Regions from separate parts of the Homo sapiens genome. Here region 1 is linked to region 2. Evidence: promoter capture Hi-C in 16 types of primary human blood cells and fetal thymus (Javierre and others, 2016). All regions are on one chromosome and are shown on one strand. The core of a region is centred on a gene start or on the middle of the fragment in contact, and the rest is flanking DNA. Distances in the headings are between cores, read along the strand shown. Region 1 holds the start of FRMPD3-AS1 (FRMPD3 antisense RNA 1). Region 2 holds the start of PRPS1 (phosphoribosyl pyrophosphate synthetase 1).

Region 1 (6,941 bases), core at 1,521-4,020, 83 kb before region 2:
CCTAGCCCAAGCCTCCATTATGTTTTAACCATATTATTGCAGTTACAAATATTGTACTTAGAGACCCCCAACTGGTCTCCATGCTCTTGCCATTGCCCTTCTACACTCTGTTTTCCACACAGCAACCAGAGGCTTCCTTTTAAAATGCACATCAGACTCTGTTCAATCAAATCCCTCTAGTGGAGTGAAATCCAAAGTTCTCACCGTGGTTTACAAGGTCCTACATGACCCAGCCCCCAGCTGCCTCTCTGAGCATCTCCCCTCTTGCTCCCCCTCCATCACGCCACTCCAGCCACCTTGGCCTTCCTTGCTGTTCTTCATACACCTCAATTCACTTCAGGGCCTTTACTGTAGTTTCTGCCCAGAAGCCTTTCTCCAGATAACCTGGTGGCTGTCTCTCCCTCACTTCCTTAAGTTTCTGCTTAATGTCTCATCCTCAGAGAGGTCTTCCCTGACCATCCTGTCTAAAATAACCTCCCCCAGTGGCCGGGCGCCGTGGCTCATACCTGTATCCCAGCACTTTGGGAGGCCGAAGTGGGTGGATCACTTGAGGTCAGTAGTTCGAGACCAGCCTGGCCAACATGGTGAAACCCCGTCTCTACCAAAAATACAAAAATTAGCTGGGCATGGTGATGCCTGCCTGTAATCCCAGCTACTCGGGAGACTGAGGCAGGGGAATCACTTGAACCGCGGAGACAGAGGTTGCAGTGAGCCGAGATCGCACCACTGCACTCTAGCCTGGGCGACAGAGCAAGACTCCTTCTCAGAAAAAAAAAAAAAAAAAATTAAAAATATAACCCGCACAATCCTACTTGTGGATATATATCCAAGGGAATTGAAATTAGTATGCCAAAGAGCCATCTGCATTCCCATGTTCGTGGCAGCACTATTCACCATAGCCAAGATAGGGAAACAACCTAAGTGTCTGCCATCAACAGATGAATGGATGAAGAAAATGTGGTATAAATACACAGTGGAATACTATTCAGTCTTTAAGAAGAAGTAAATCCTGTCATTTGCTACAACATGGATGAACTTGGAAGACATTATCCTAAGTGAAATAATAATAATAATTATTATAAGCCAGACACAGAAAGACAAATACCACATGATCTCACTTACATGCGGAATCTAAAAAAGTCAAAATCATAGAAGTGGAGCATAGAATGGTGATCACTAGAGGCTAAGGTTGGGAGGGAGTGGGGAGATGCTGTTCAAAGGATACAAAGGCTCAGTTAGACAGGAGGAATAAGTTTTTGAGATCTATTGCACAGCATGATGACTATAGTTAATAATAATGTATTATGTATTTCAAAATTGCTAAAATAATACCCTCACTACTCCCACTCTAACTCACTCATTCTCTTGTGTAGTCCTTTACCCTGCCTTATTTTTCCTCAAAGTCCTTCTTTGCTACCTAAAAGATATTTATCGTCTGTCTATTCCTGCTGGAATGGATGCTCCATGAGGCCAGGGAGTTTTGTCTGTCTTATTCACTGCTCTATCCCTCATCACCTAGAACAGTGTGTGGCATGTAGTAGGCCCTTGCTAAATTTGTCAAAAGAATGAATAAACGCCCCCCCAAAGACAATGAGGATGCCCCTCAGCACGACTCCTGTATTCCTAATTGCTGGGCCTTACAGAGCTCAGCAGGGAGCTAGAATCCAAGGGGCACCCAGGAAAGGCTTAGTTTCCAGTGTTTGCTAATCATGCTTCTGATAAAATTGTGGGAGAGTTTTCAAGAACTAAAAAGCCAGCCAGGCATGGTGGCCTGTAAGCCCAGTACTTTGGGAGGCTGAGGCAGGTGGATCACCTAAGGTCAGGAGTTCAAGACCAGCCTGGCCAACATGGTGAGACCCCATCTCTACTAAAAATACAAAATTAGCTGGGTGTGGTGGCACATGACTGTAATCCCAGCTACTCAGGAGGCAAGGCTGGAGAATCGCTTGAACCCAGGGAGCGGAGGTTGCAGTGAGCCGAGATTGCACCATTGCACTCCAGCCTAGGCGACAAGAGTGAAACTCCGTCTAAAAATAAATAAATAAATACAAGCCTGGCTGATTTTTTGGGCATTTCTTACAGAATTGGATAAACAAAGTGGTGCAGAGCCCAAAACTAGAAAGCCAGAAGACTTGGGTTAAATCTCTCACATCTCTATTCCCCAATAGTGTAGTAACTGTGGATAAATCCTTTTGGAGTGCTAGGTCTCCTTTCTCCCACATCTAAAATAGTATTTATTATGCAACTCCTTCCTAGGGGCAGGACATGTCTGTGAGGTGAACAAGATCATTTCTGTAAATTATTTGGGATGCTTATATTCAGATATAATAATAATAATAAAAAGACACCCTTTAGGTCTATCTCACTGTAAGAAAACCAAATATATAAAAACTCAATGTATGTTATTACTAAAGAACTTTTGCAAACTCCCCTAGGCCTAGAGTATTAATAATGGGGTTCAATCTACCCAAATTCAATTCATGCCCAGCTGTTTCAGAACACACCAATTACATAGGGAAGCATTTAGCACATTGCCTTGCAACTAATAGGTAATTAATATTTGTTTATTGACTCCTTGATCAGTAATGCAAAGTGTACCTGTACTGGGACATCTTAACTCTGACGTGACAAAGGTTAGGCTTTCCCTAGATATGGAGAACTCACCATCTCTCTGTTCTTTTTCCAGTCCCCCAAATCTGCTTTCATCAGTGCTGCGAAGAAGGCCAAGTTGAGGTCCAATCCTGTGAAGGTTCGATTTTCTGAGCAGGTGGCAGTTGGAGAAACAGATGCAGTAAGTGTAGCTTTGGCTCCCTCTCCTCAGCCCCTGGCCATAATCTGCCTGGCTGTCAAGCTCTCGCTCTGGGGCTTCTTATAGTGGACAGCTTTCCGAATGGGTTAGAGTGGGAGCGTCCAGGTGCTGGAGGGGGAAAAGTAGTGAGTGAAGAGGGATACGTGACATCCAGAGAGGCCCCAGGCATTGTGGGGAGAAGGAATATATATTGATTCACTCAAGATCCTTCTGATGCTTAGAGAAATTTCCATCCCTAACACAGTAGCTTACACTCAAAGCAAGTGCTCCATAAACATCTTTTGCTACTTGATAGAAACAGGAAGGAAATAATGGCTTCCTGAAGACTCAGGGAATGAGTGGCTGGTGAAATTGAGCTCTCTTCACATTTAAGTGATCTTGCAACTCCACATCTTGACCAGAAAAGGCCATGCAGTGGTGAGTAAAGTTGCCTAAAGGAAATGATACAGACTCTCATTAAGTCACCAAGTTTTTATTAGGCACCTGCTATGTTCTTAGCACCAGAGGGGAGGCAAAATAAATACCTGTTCCCTGCTACCAGATACCTCTCAGCAATGTTGAGGGGGACAAGAGGTTCAGATTGAGACAATACAAAATCTACTACGGGGTGGTATTGTTTCGAAAGACAGGTAATATTTGACAGCCCATGCCATGCAGCTGCCAATTTGGGGAGTCTTGGCCAGCCACAGTGTTTCTCACTGCTTTGGGAGGTTTACATGCAGTGAACTGTCGGCTCCAGATGTGCAAATGAGAAGAGGCAGGTGAAGAGCAGAAAAGAAGTGTGTTAAGCAGTCATGCATTCTGGCCGAGTCCTTCAGGAATCTGCAGAAGTTAGTGATAACCTGGTGGGGACAGAGGGGATAGCTAGAGCTAACAGGCACTTGTGTGCTTTTGATAGCTGTGATGGGCAGAGCTGTCTGGAGGCCCTTGGCATTTACGTACTGAGGAACAGCCACAGTTGTTGGGAGAAGATAGCAGGCCCAGAGCAGGGAAATCAGCAGGGTGCCAGGCGCTTCTATATTATTTAAGGCAGAATTAGTGAGAAGAAGGTATAGAGGACACAGGTGTCTTCCATCTCCATTTCCCTGACTCTCATTCCCAAACTCAGTCTATGCCCTCCTCCATCTCTGCATGAGGAAGGCTGGCAAACCCAGGGGACTACAGGACCCCACTGGGCAAGCTGTCTGAATAATTGATGGTTGGGATCTGTGTCAATCCTAGAAGAAAAGTTTTAAGAGAAGTGATCATTGATGAGCAGAGGGGAAAAGGAGTAATATGGAGTCCCTGCAAATCAGGGTGAAACAGACCCCGAGGTCCAAGTCACCAGGAGGATATGTGTGTCCTGAATGCTTGAAAACCCAGAGGACGTATGACTTGGATTTGGTAAGTATGAACAGGCTTATCCTATGCCATCTCAACATTGCAGAGTAATCAGTCAAGGGCAGGCCACCCAGTGAAGAACTCCTTCCCTTCCTCCCCACTCCCCTCCCCTCTCTTCTCTTCCTCTCCCTTCTACTTCCCCTTCTCCACTTTCTCCTTCTTCCACCATGATTCCCCTCTCCATACGTCACAGCTAGGTTACAGGCACAGCTAGTCTACAGGCGTAACGATGCCCCCCACTCCAGTCTATTCTGAATGCAAATGCCACAGAGTAGCTAGGACCCACCTAGAGTGACCTCATTCTCTCGGACAGGCCACCAGGCATAGTGTGAGGCTCTTGTCTGGGTGAGAGACAGACATCAATCTTCCAACTCTCACTGCACTCGTGAAATTACCTGGTGTTACAACATCACCCTCCTCCATGCTGCCGCCAGTATGGACCATAGCAGCCTCATCACAGGTCGGGAGCCGGGGGAGTCCAGGCCCAAGTGACTCCAGGCTCTCCTATCAACCCTTTCCTTTCGTGTTCCAAGGCTTTATTAAGCAGCCAGAGCAAAAATAAATCCTGTGGGTGATCCTTGCCAGCTCTATTTTTAAGCAAATTCAATTAAGTAATTATCTGAGTCCAACCCAGTGTGCTAAATAAAACCTGCCACCACTGGGATCCGGGGCCGCTGGGCCTGGCAGGAGCAAGGCATCTCAAGATCAGGGAGGGGACCAGGGAGTCACACTCTTCCAATTTTATATCCCACCACTTCCCACCTTGTTTCCACAGCCAAGCTTGTCTCTTGGCTCCTCACCACCATCAACCATACCCCAACCCAGGAGGATTTGCTTGTTCCTCTTTCCATGCTTTGTCCATGATCCATGACAGTCTCTAGGTCTAGACTGTTCTCATCTGGCTTCTCAAATCATCCACACCCACTGTCTCCTTCAAAATCAAAATCCAATTTGCCTTATCTAGGAAACTTTAGCCATCTTATACCTGTTGGTTTGCTTTGGTTTTATAATGTGTATGTGTGCCAAGTCACTACAACAAGAATTTAAGACTGGATTTAAATCTCCTGTAGCTCTCATAGAGACTTAGCATAGTGTTGGGCATACAGTAGAGGTTCAATGAATGCCCAGTGAATTAAGGAATCTGGTTATCTCTGCAGCTTTTCCATTCCTATAGAACTGATGATGATGTTGGCCCAGGGAAATGGTTGGGATGAGAGTGATCATTCAGTAAGTGCACATCAAGCACCTACTGCCCATTCATTCAGCAGCCATTTATTGCGCACCAAATGTGTGCCAGGAACTTTGTTTAGTGTTGGGACTACAAAGATAAATAGGACATGGTCTTTGTGCTCTCATTTCACCATTTGATTGTGAAAGACAAATATCCTTCAAAAATATGATAAAGGTGAGTTTCGGCAGCATAGTGAGACCCTGTCTCTACAAAAAGTAAAAAATTTAGCTAGGTGTAGTGGCACATGCCTGTAGTCGTAGCTATTTGGGAGGCTGAGGTAGAAGGATCACTTGAGCCCAGGAGTTTGAGGCTGCAGTGAGCTGTGATTGCACCACTGCACTCCAGCCTAGGCAATAGAGCGAGACCCTGTCTCAAAAAGAAATCAAAACAAAACAAAATACGGTAAGAGCATTGTGAGAAGCGTGCATAAATTGCTATAGGAATGCATGGAAAGACCAGGTCCAAGTATCTGATGATATTAGACCAAGGCTTTACAGAATACATATTTGAGCTGGGTTTTGAAGGATAAATAGGAGTTTGCCAAAGAGGAAAAGAGAAAGGCAGAGGGAACAGCTTTTTTTCTTTCTTTCTTTTAGAGTCCTCAGAGAAAGAGAACAGTCTTTATTTAATGAATTTTTATTAAGAATGTCTCAATCAGAGTCAGTACCTCCCATTGCTAGAGAGCTTTTGAAAATGTCTGAGGGCCAGGCATGGTGACTCTCGCCTGTAATCCCAGCTACTACTAGAGAGGCTGAGGCAGGAGGATCACTTGAACTCAGGAGGCAGAGGTTGCAGCGAGCCGAGATCACACCACTGCACTCCCACCTGGGCGACAGAGCGAGACTCTGTCTCAAAAAAAGAAAAAGAAAAAAAAAAGAAAATGTCTGAGGGTGTTTCAGGTCATCCCAATGCTTTGGTGTGCTACTGGCACTTCATGTCTCAGGGTCGGAGATGCTAAGTGTTGTGCAGGGAGGGGGACATCCCTGAATAATGAAGAATCATCAGAGGTATGGAGGTGTGAAAGAGGTGTGGGTACTAGGAATAGCAAGACGTGACTCTGGAGACTAGGCAGGGGCCAGGTCAGAAAGGGCCTAGGGAGGGGAAAAGGCAGAGCAAAGGCCTTGACAGGACGTGATCTTGGCTTGTGAAGGGCCTCAGGGAAAGGGAGGTATCAGGAGATAAGATCAGTCTAGAAGCTTTGTAGAAGGTGTTTAAAAAAATGTCAGAGATAAGATCAGGTGGGTGAGGTAGACTCCAAAGGAGGCCTCTCATCAGCCCTTCAGCGGGTGTGTGGTGATCCCTTTGCTCTGATCTGTGGAGGTTTGAACTACAGTAGAATGTGGGTGCTCCGTGATGTCAAATGGAGGCGGGCTTTTGATATGGCTCAGTGTCTTGTTGGGGAGTTTGGTTCTGGTCCCCATGTATTATTGATCTGCTCTTTCCTCTGTCTCTGCCCTCCTACACCTTTGGCTCTCTGTCTCCATCACCTTTTCTCTCTCCTTTTTCACACCCTTCCTCTGG
Region 2 (7,130 bases), core at 2,575-5,074:
CAATAGAGGGTTGCCATAAACCTTCAAGTTGTAAAAAATGCAGTATCTGCAAAGCACAATAAAGCAAAGTGTGATAAAATGAGGAATACTTGTGGCTGGAGAGAGGATCTATAGTGGTCATAAAATTCTCAAAGGGGTCCATAATCTCTAAAAGGACCCCTTTTAATTTAATCTGAGATTTTAATTTAATTAATTTAATTTTAATTTAATCTGAGATTAGTGAATCTCAGATTCACAATGTCTTTATCATTCCTCTTCTTAAACCCTACAGCTACTGGCATAGTTAATGACATTACTAACTTGCTCTCCCAATCTGGTTTGCCTGCCTCCAATCTCTTCTCTATTCTTCACCCCACACAGAAAAGTTTACCTAAAGCACAGTTATGATCGTGTCATGCTCTTACTCCAGAACAGTCAATGGCTTCCTATTGCCTGCGGAATGAAGTCCCAATATGGTACTTGATATTCCAGCAAAACTAAACTATTTTCTCTTCTTCAAAACCTCTCTCTGCTTCCTCATCTTTTCTTCCTGCCTGGGAGATCCACCTCCTCTCAATCATTGCCTGTCAAAACCCTACTCATCAATCAAGGCCTAGTTCATGTGCTTCTACCTCCAAAAATATTTCCCAGGATACTCCATGCAGAGGTGATATCTTCTACCTCTGGACCTGCAGAGCATTTTGTTTGGGCCTTATGGGAGACTTCTAGTTGCATACCCAAAATTCATTCTCTCTTCTTTCTGGGAACAGGGCCACCTAACAAAACATTTCCTAGTCTTTCTTGCAGTTAGGTGCGAATTGTGACTGAGCTCTTGCCAAAGGGATGTGAGAGAAAGTGGGATGGATAAATTTCATCTCACTTGCTTAAAAGGAAATCCCTTGCCTAGACCTCTTCTCTGAGCTAGAATGTGGATGTGTCCATGACCTAGCATGGAGCAGAATCATCCCACTGGCTTAGACCAGCCAGCCTGTTATGCAAGAGAGAAATAATTTGTCTTACTAAAGCCGCTATATTTTAGAGTCTCCTTGTTACAGCAGCCTCCACATTATCCAAGCACAGGCTTCTCTATGGTAGCGTATTACATTGTCTGTGCTTTGTAATTATTTGTATAAATGTCTTATCAACTTTCTTTGGAAGTTAACTCCTAATCGGTCTTCCTGCTTCCTATCTTGCCTCCTACACTCTGTTCTCAGTAGCTGGGGTGATCTTTTTAAAAGGGAAGTTAGATTATGTCACTCTTTGCTAAAAATTCTTACTCAGTTAAAGCAAAAACCCCTAAAATAACCTATAAGGTTCTGCATGATCAGCACTCTCCCCACAATCCCTTTTTTTTTTTTTTTTTGGAGACAGGGTCTCTCTCTGTCACCCAGGCTGGAGGGCAGTGGCGCGATCTCGGCTTACTGCAATCTCTGCCTCCCAGGCTCAAGTGATCCTCTCATTTCAGCCTCCCCAGAAGCTGGGACTACAGGTGCTTGCCACCATGCCCAGCTAATTTTTGTATTTTTTGTAGAGATAAGGTTTTGCCATGTTGCCCAGGCTGGTCTGCAAATCCTGAGCTCGAGTGATCCGCCCGCCTCGGCCTCCCAAAGTACTGGGATTACAGACATGAGCCATCGTGCCCACCTGAGTCCCCCAATCACTGTTTTGTTTTGTTTTGTTTAGACAGAATCTCACTCTGTCGCCCAGGCTGGAGTGCAGTGGTGCGATCTCCGCTCACTGCTGCAACCTCTGCCTCCCAAGTTCAAGTGATTCTCTTGCCTCAGTGGGACTACAGGTGCCCACCACCACGCCTGGCTAATTTTTGTATTTTTTGTAGAGACGAGGTTTCGCCACGTTGCCCAGGCTGGTCTTGAACTCCTGAGCTCAAGTGATCCGCCCACCTCGGCCACCCTGAGTGCTGGGATTACAGGCGTGAGCTACCGTGCCTGGCCGGCCTCCAATCACTCTTATCTCATTGACCTCACTTTCCTCCTTTTCTCTTATAGATACATTCCACCTCCACCACACAACACTCGTCCCGCATTGGTATTCCTCAAACAAGCGAGATACATCTGCCTTAGGGTATTTGCCCTTTCTGTTCTCTTTGCTTATCGAGATATCAACATGGCTCATTTTTTTGTTTTTTTTTTCCTCCTTCAGGTCTTTGCCCAAATGTTACCTTCCAAGACAGGTCTTCTCTGACCACCCTACTTAAAATTGTACTCCTCTCCTCTACACTCTGGCACATTATCCCACTTTCCTTGCCTGATTTTTTTTTCCACAACACTTATTGCCATTTGACATACTATGCATTTTGCTTATTTACATGTTTATTGTTTGAGAATGTAAACTCCATGACAGCAGGGTATTTTTAATTGTTTACTAATGTATTCTTGTGCCAATACACAGGGCCTAGCACATAAAGAATGTTCACTAAATATTTATTGAATGAACGAATCCCTTGGGGCAAATACTTTGTAGTCCCCTCAACGCCTTGCACACTGCCTTGCATGCAATAGAACACTCAGTAAATATTTGATGAATGGCCTATGATGGAAGACTACTAATATTCTGCCTTGCAGTTTACTTCCTTCTCCAAGTATTCCTATATACATGGGCCTACATTAAATTTCTGAGCTTGTAAAAGTGCAAAAAAGGTCAGAAGGAGAAGTCCTCCATGGACACTGCTGAAAATAGCAGTAAGACAAAGACAGGATGCTGCTTTGAGTATTTTCTGCCTTTGCCACTTAGATAAATCCCTCTCCCACCTCCATCTCAGTTTTATCATATGTAAAACGACTATATGATCTCTGAGGTCCCTTCTATTTTTACATTTGGTAGTTATGAGCACTATGGTCACTTTTGATTCCAGAATTGTATGATTTTTATCTTCTCCTAACCCATGCTTAAAATATGCTTAATGGAAACATGGTGCAAGAATAAAGGCTCACTTAGGTCCAATTAACAAGTATCGCTATAAAAATAATAAAACATGGTGTAAAAGGCCACATTAGCAACATGTAGCTGATGACATTGAGGCTTACATGAGGCAGACAGGACTAAAACCCAGGTTTTTTCAAATCCCTTCAGGGCTCTTTATCTGAAGTCCCATAGAACACTATACTTTCTTTCCTTTCCGAGGGCTATAAAAGTTAGATCTTTATTGTCCAGATAGTTTGGAAAATCCATCTTCCTTCACTTGTTTCAACATACTTGGTTCCAGCACTAGAAACAAAACAACTTTCTCTTGCAGTGTCTCTTGGATGATTCAGGTGGCATGCCTTCAGTCACTTCCCCCATGTAAACTGTCTTGCAGGCAAAGGCGACACTGCAATTACAATGGGCAAGCAAACTCCTTGCATGCACGTCTGTGATGTAAAAGTGTTTTAATTCAGCCCCATCCTTATAAAGAGATAAAAAATGTGTTCAGAAACATGCAAACTCGTGGCTGTCATCCTGATAAACAGATTTTCTTAAAGGAAACTGTAAACCAGAGCCAGACTTACTTTCCTGCGCTGAGGGAGGGGAAATAAAAAAGCAGGCATGGTTGATTTCCCGCTAGCGGGAACGATCTGGCCTCAGACGTCACCAGCATCCCTCCACCCCCAGTCCAACGTCTCCTGTCCCCAACAGCCTAGCTACAGGGGGCCGGGCTATGGGTTAGTCTCGCCCCCGTTCATGCTCTTCACCCAATACCTGAGAGAATCGGAAGGAGGCAGAGCTACACCGAGGACCAAACCCCGCCCTTCGCTCCCTCTTAGCTAATCGTTGCCAGCGGGGTGTGGACTTCGCCGCTGACCCCACCTCCGCCGCTTTGGGTAATTTAGAGCCGCGCGCCGGGCGGGAATGTAAGATGGCGGAGTAGCAACGCAAAGCGCTTGGTATTGAGTCTGTGGCCGACTTCGGTTCCGGTCTCTGCAGCAGCCGTGATCGCTTAGTGGAGTGCTTAGGGTAGTTGGCCAGGATGCCGAATATCAAAATCTTCAGCGGCAGCTCCCACCAGGACTTATCTCAGAAAATTGCTGACCGCCTGGGCCTGGAGCTAGGCAAGGTGGTGACTAAGAAATTCAGCAACCAGGAGACCTGGTAAGGACCAAGTTGGGACCCTGACTAGACCTCACCTGCCCAGGCGGCAGAGTATAGGAGGGATGGGGTCGCCGCTTGAGCTCAAACAGACTGGGGGTTGGGGGGAGAGGGTGCAGCTCTGTGACTAGCCTACCCCACGGGCTGTTTCCGTTATTTTACCTCTCGCGGGAGGGTCACGTTCATTCTTACCGTGCGGTGGGGTGGAGTCAAAAGATGGAGTGTGAGGCGAAGCTTCTGCGTTTGAGGGCAAGGGCTGGGGGACCCAATAGATAGTGGCTGCATAGAGCGACGAGAGGGGACCGACGCTTAGCCAGGGCGGTAGGGACACGTGGCTTGGCTTTGCTGTTGAGCCACCCAGGCTGGACTGGGTTGCTTCAGCTCTTAGACTAGCTTGCATTTAGAGAGCCTACCTGCGTACTGAGCTCTCCTGGTCTTTCTTTTCCTAGAGTCCAATAAGCAGCTTTTTGATTCGAAATGGTGTTGGTCCGTTCGGCTTGGTGTTGAGGGAAACTGACATTATATACTGCAGGCGCCAAAATTATTACGACTTCCCTTAGATCAGCAAGCGTTGGCTTTTCTCATCTTATGAATCATCTACCTGAGTAATTGGAGCCATAAATCTAGTTGATTTGTTAAAGTGATGCGTTGACTCTGCATCCTTGATAGCCAGCATCTCAGCTTGAGCCATCCAAAAAATCTTGGAAATCTCAATTCTGGAATGTTTGACCTTCCCCAGTGCAGCTAGTGGTACAGATAATGCAAAAGCGTATTTTTCAGTAACCGAGTCCATCCTGGACTTGGCTCCTTCTTTAAGCTCTGTGTAGGGAATTTAGGAAACAATTTTATACCTGAATGTTAAAGATAATTGAGGACAGGCAATGTAGTGGAAGACTAGGATTGGACAGTGCATTGCAACTTGCGTTTTTTCCATTGCCTTGCCAGTAAAACTTGCTTCCTCGACTCCGACTTACACCCTCTACCGGCACCATGGGACTGTTTTAGAGATGACTTGGTTACCTGATTATTTCAGTGCCCCTTCCACCTAAGTGTGGGATCTTTAGTTTCTGATAGGTGTAATTTGTATTTTATTGTTACCCTATCGATTAAATCAGAGCCCTGCCCACAATCTTACAGATTTGTTAAGGGGAAAGTTTTCACCTAATAATCAGATAAGAATATTTCGAATATTTTTTCCTAAATGTTTTTGCTTACTTTTTTGCTTTCTTTGGACTGATTTCCAAGTTTAACTCGCCTTATCTCTTTTAGACCCAGCTGATAAAGTAATGTCACCGATAATGGACAGCTTCTTCCCGAATTATTGTGCTACTGATTGTGATGCAAATGATAGTGTAAACATTGCCATCTGTAACCAGGCAATACCTTAGTTAAAAGAGGCTTACAAACTGCTGTCTTTAGATTTTTCCAAACCATTATGGCTCATGGGCCTTAATAAAGAATACAAAACAGGACTAGACTTTGTGATTGGCAATATAGTTAGGGGACAAGAATGTTTTTCATTTAGAGGTTTTCTTTGGCCCCTGTGGATATTTAATCCTTTTCCTATGCGTCTAGGAAAAATGTGAAGGCATGAAAGCTTTATTTTCTCCTTGTGTTAATCCTTCTGCCCTCTGCATAATGCAGCACCCCAGAACCTGAGGCTATATTGGGAGAGGAGAGGGGGAGGACAACTTAGTTTTCTACTGATTGATTTCTATTAAGTCCAACATGGATAATTGCTGACTGGTTAGATTTTCTTGTTTCTGGCTTAATCATTAGCTTCTTGTTTCCTAGATATTCTGAAATCTTCATTGAACATAATCACATTTTTTTTTATGGAGTTCCCCCTATCTTTGTTTTTCCTATACTGAAGAAATGGTAACTGCTCCCTATAACTGCTCCCCCAGGTGACTCTTGGTTGATGCTCTCTTGAGCAGAGTAGCTTTTCTTCTAACATAAGGATCATCCTTGGCTGTCTGGTTATTTAGGAAACACACACACACACACACACACACACACACACACACGGAGGGGGTGGGTGTTAAAAGTGCTGAAATCAGAGAACTTGGATCTGAATCCTTAACCTTTCTTTGCCCCAATAATCTAATCTGTAAAGTAGTACCTACCCATACTGTTGTTATGAGGATTAAATGAGATAGAAGTAAAGTTCTTAGGATCTTGTCCAAAACATAATAAGTACAACAGTAAATGTTGACAAGAAGGGGTGGTGATAATATTGCAGAAAATGTGGAAAATTTAGAACACGGAAGGGAGAAGATATGCCTCTTAATTCTGCCACCTGACATAAATGTCACATTATCATTTCTGACCTCCCAGATATTTGTGTAAGATACACTTTTTCAAGAATGTTTAATACATTTATAGCTCTCTTCACTTAGCAATATATTTTGAACAGTTTCTCCCTTTAATATTTAGTATATATGATTTTCTTTTTTTATTATTAAAGATTTTAATTTATTTTTTAGAGATGAGGTCTCACTATGTTGCCCAGGCTGGAGTCCAATAGCTACTCACAGGCACAATCATAGCACACTGCATCCTCAAACTCGCGGGCTCAAGTGATCTGCCTGCCTCTGCCTCTCAAGTAGTTGAGAATACAGGCATGCACCACTGAGGTGGGCTAGTTCATGTAATTTTAAATAGCTATATAGTCTTACCTTATGGTTATGCCATAATTTTATATAACCAAATTCTTATTGGACATTTCCAGTTTTTGATCTAATGCTTTTATATGAAAATCCATGAACATAAATCTTTGACCATTTCTGATTATTTCCTTAGAATAAATCCCTAGGAAGGTAATTATTAAGTTAAAGGGTAGATACCATTTTTCAGGCTTTTGATACCTGTTGCCAAATTATTCCCCAGAAAAGTTGAACAAATCTGTCTCATCAGCAGTAATACAATATTAATAATATTTATTTATGTATTTATTTTTTGAGACGGAGTTTCACTCTTACTGCCCAGGAGTGCAGTGGTGCGATCTCAGCTCACTGCAACCTCCGCCACCCAGGTTCAAGCAGTTCTCCTGCCTCAGCCTCCCGAGT

Evidence for each region. Contacts are between HindIII fragments. The CHiCAGO score rates a contact against its expected background, and 5 or more counts as called.
Region 1: the fragment with the promoter of FRMPD3-AS1 here is called in contact with the fragment with the promoter of PRPS1 in region 2 in 1 of 17 cell types (megakaryocytes); the score reaches 5.1 in megakaryocytes.

Annotation. Positions count from the first base shown.
Region 1 is chrX:107,543,051-107,549,991 of GRCh38, forward strand. FRMPD3-AS1 (FRMPD3 antisense RNA 1) reads right to left here and starts at 2,771. Exons shown (of 2, transcript NR_046750.1): 1 at 2,665-2,771. It overlaps FRMPD3 (FERM and PDZ domain containing 3), which reads left to right. Exons shown (of 15, transcript NM_001388459.1): 5 at 2,687-2,791. The HindIII fragment of the contact is 5,600 bases long and covers 1-4,967 here.
Region 2 is chrX:107,624,686-107,631,815 of GRCh38, forward strand. PRPS1 (phosphoribosyl pyrophosphate synthetase 1) reads left to right here and starts at 3,825. Exons shown (of 7, transcript NM_002764.4): 1 at 3,825-4,065. The coding sequence starts at 3,944. RefSeq lists a silencer at 3,663-3,712. The HindIII fragment of the contact is 4,384 bases long and covers 1-4,294 here.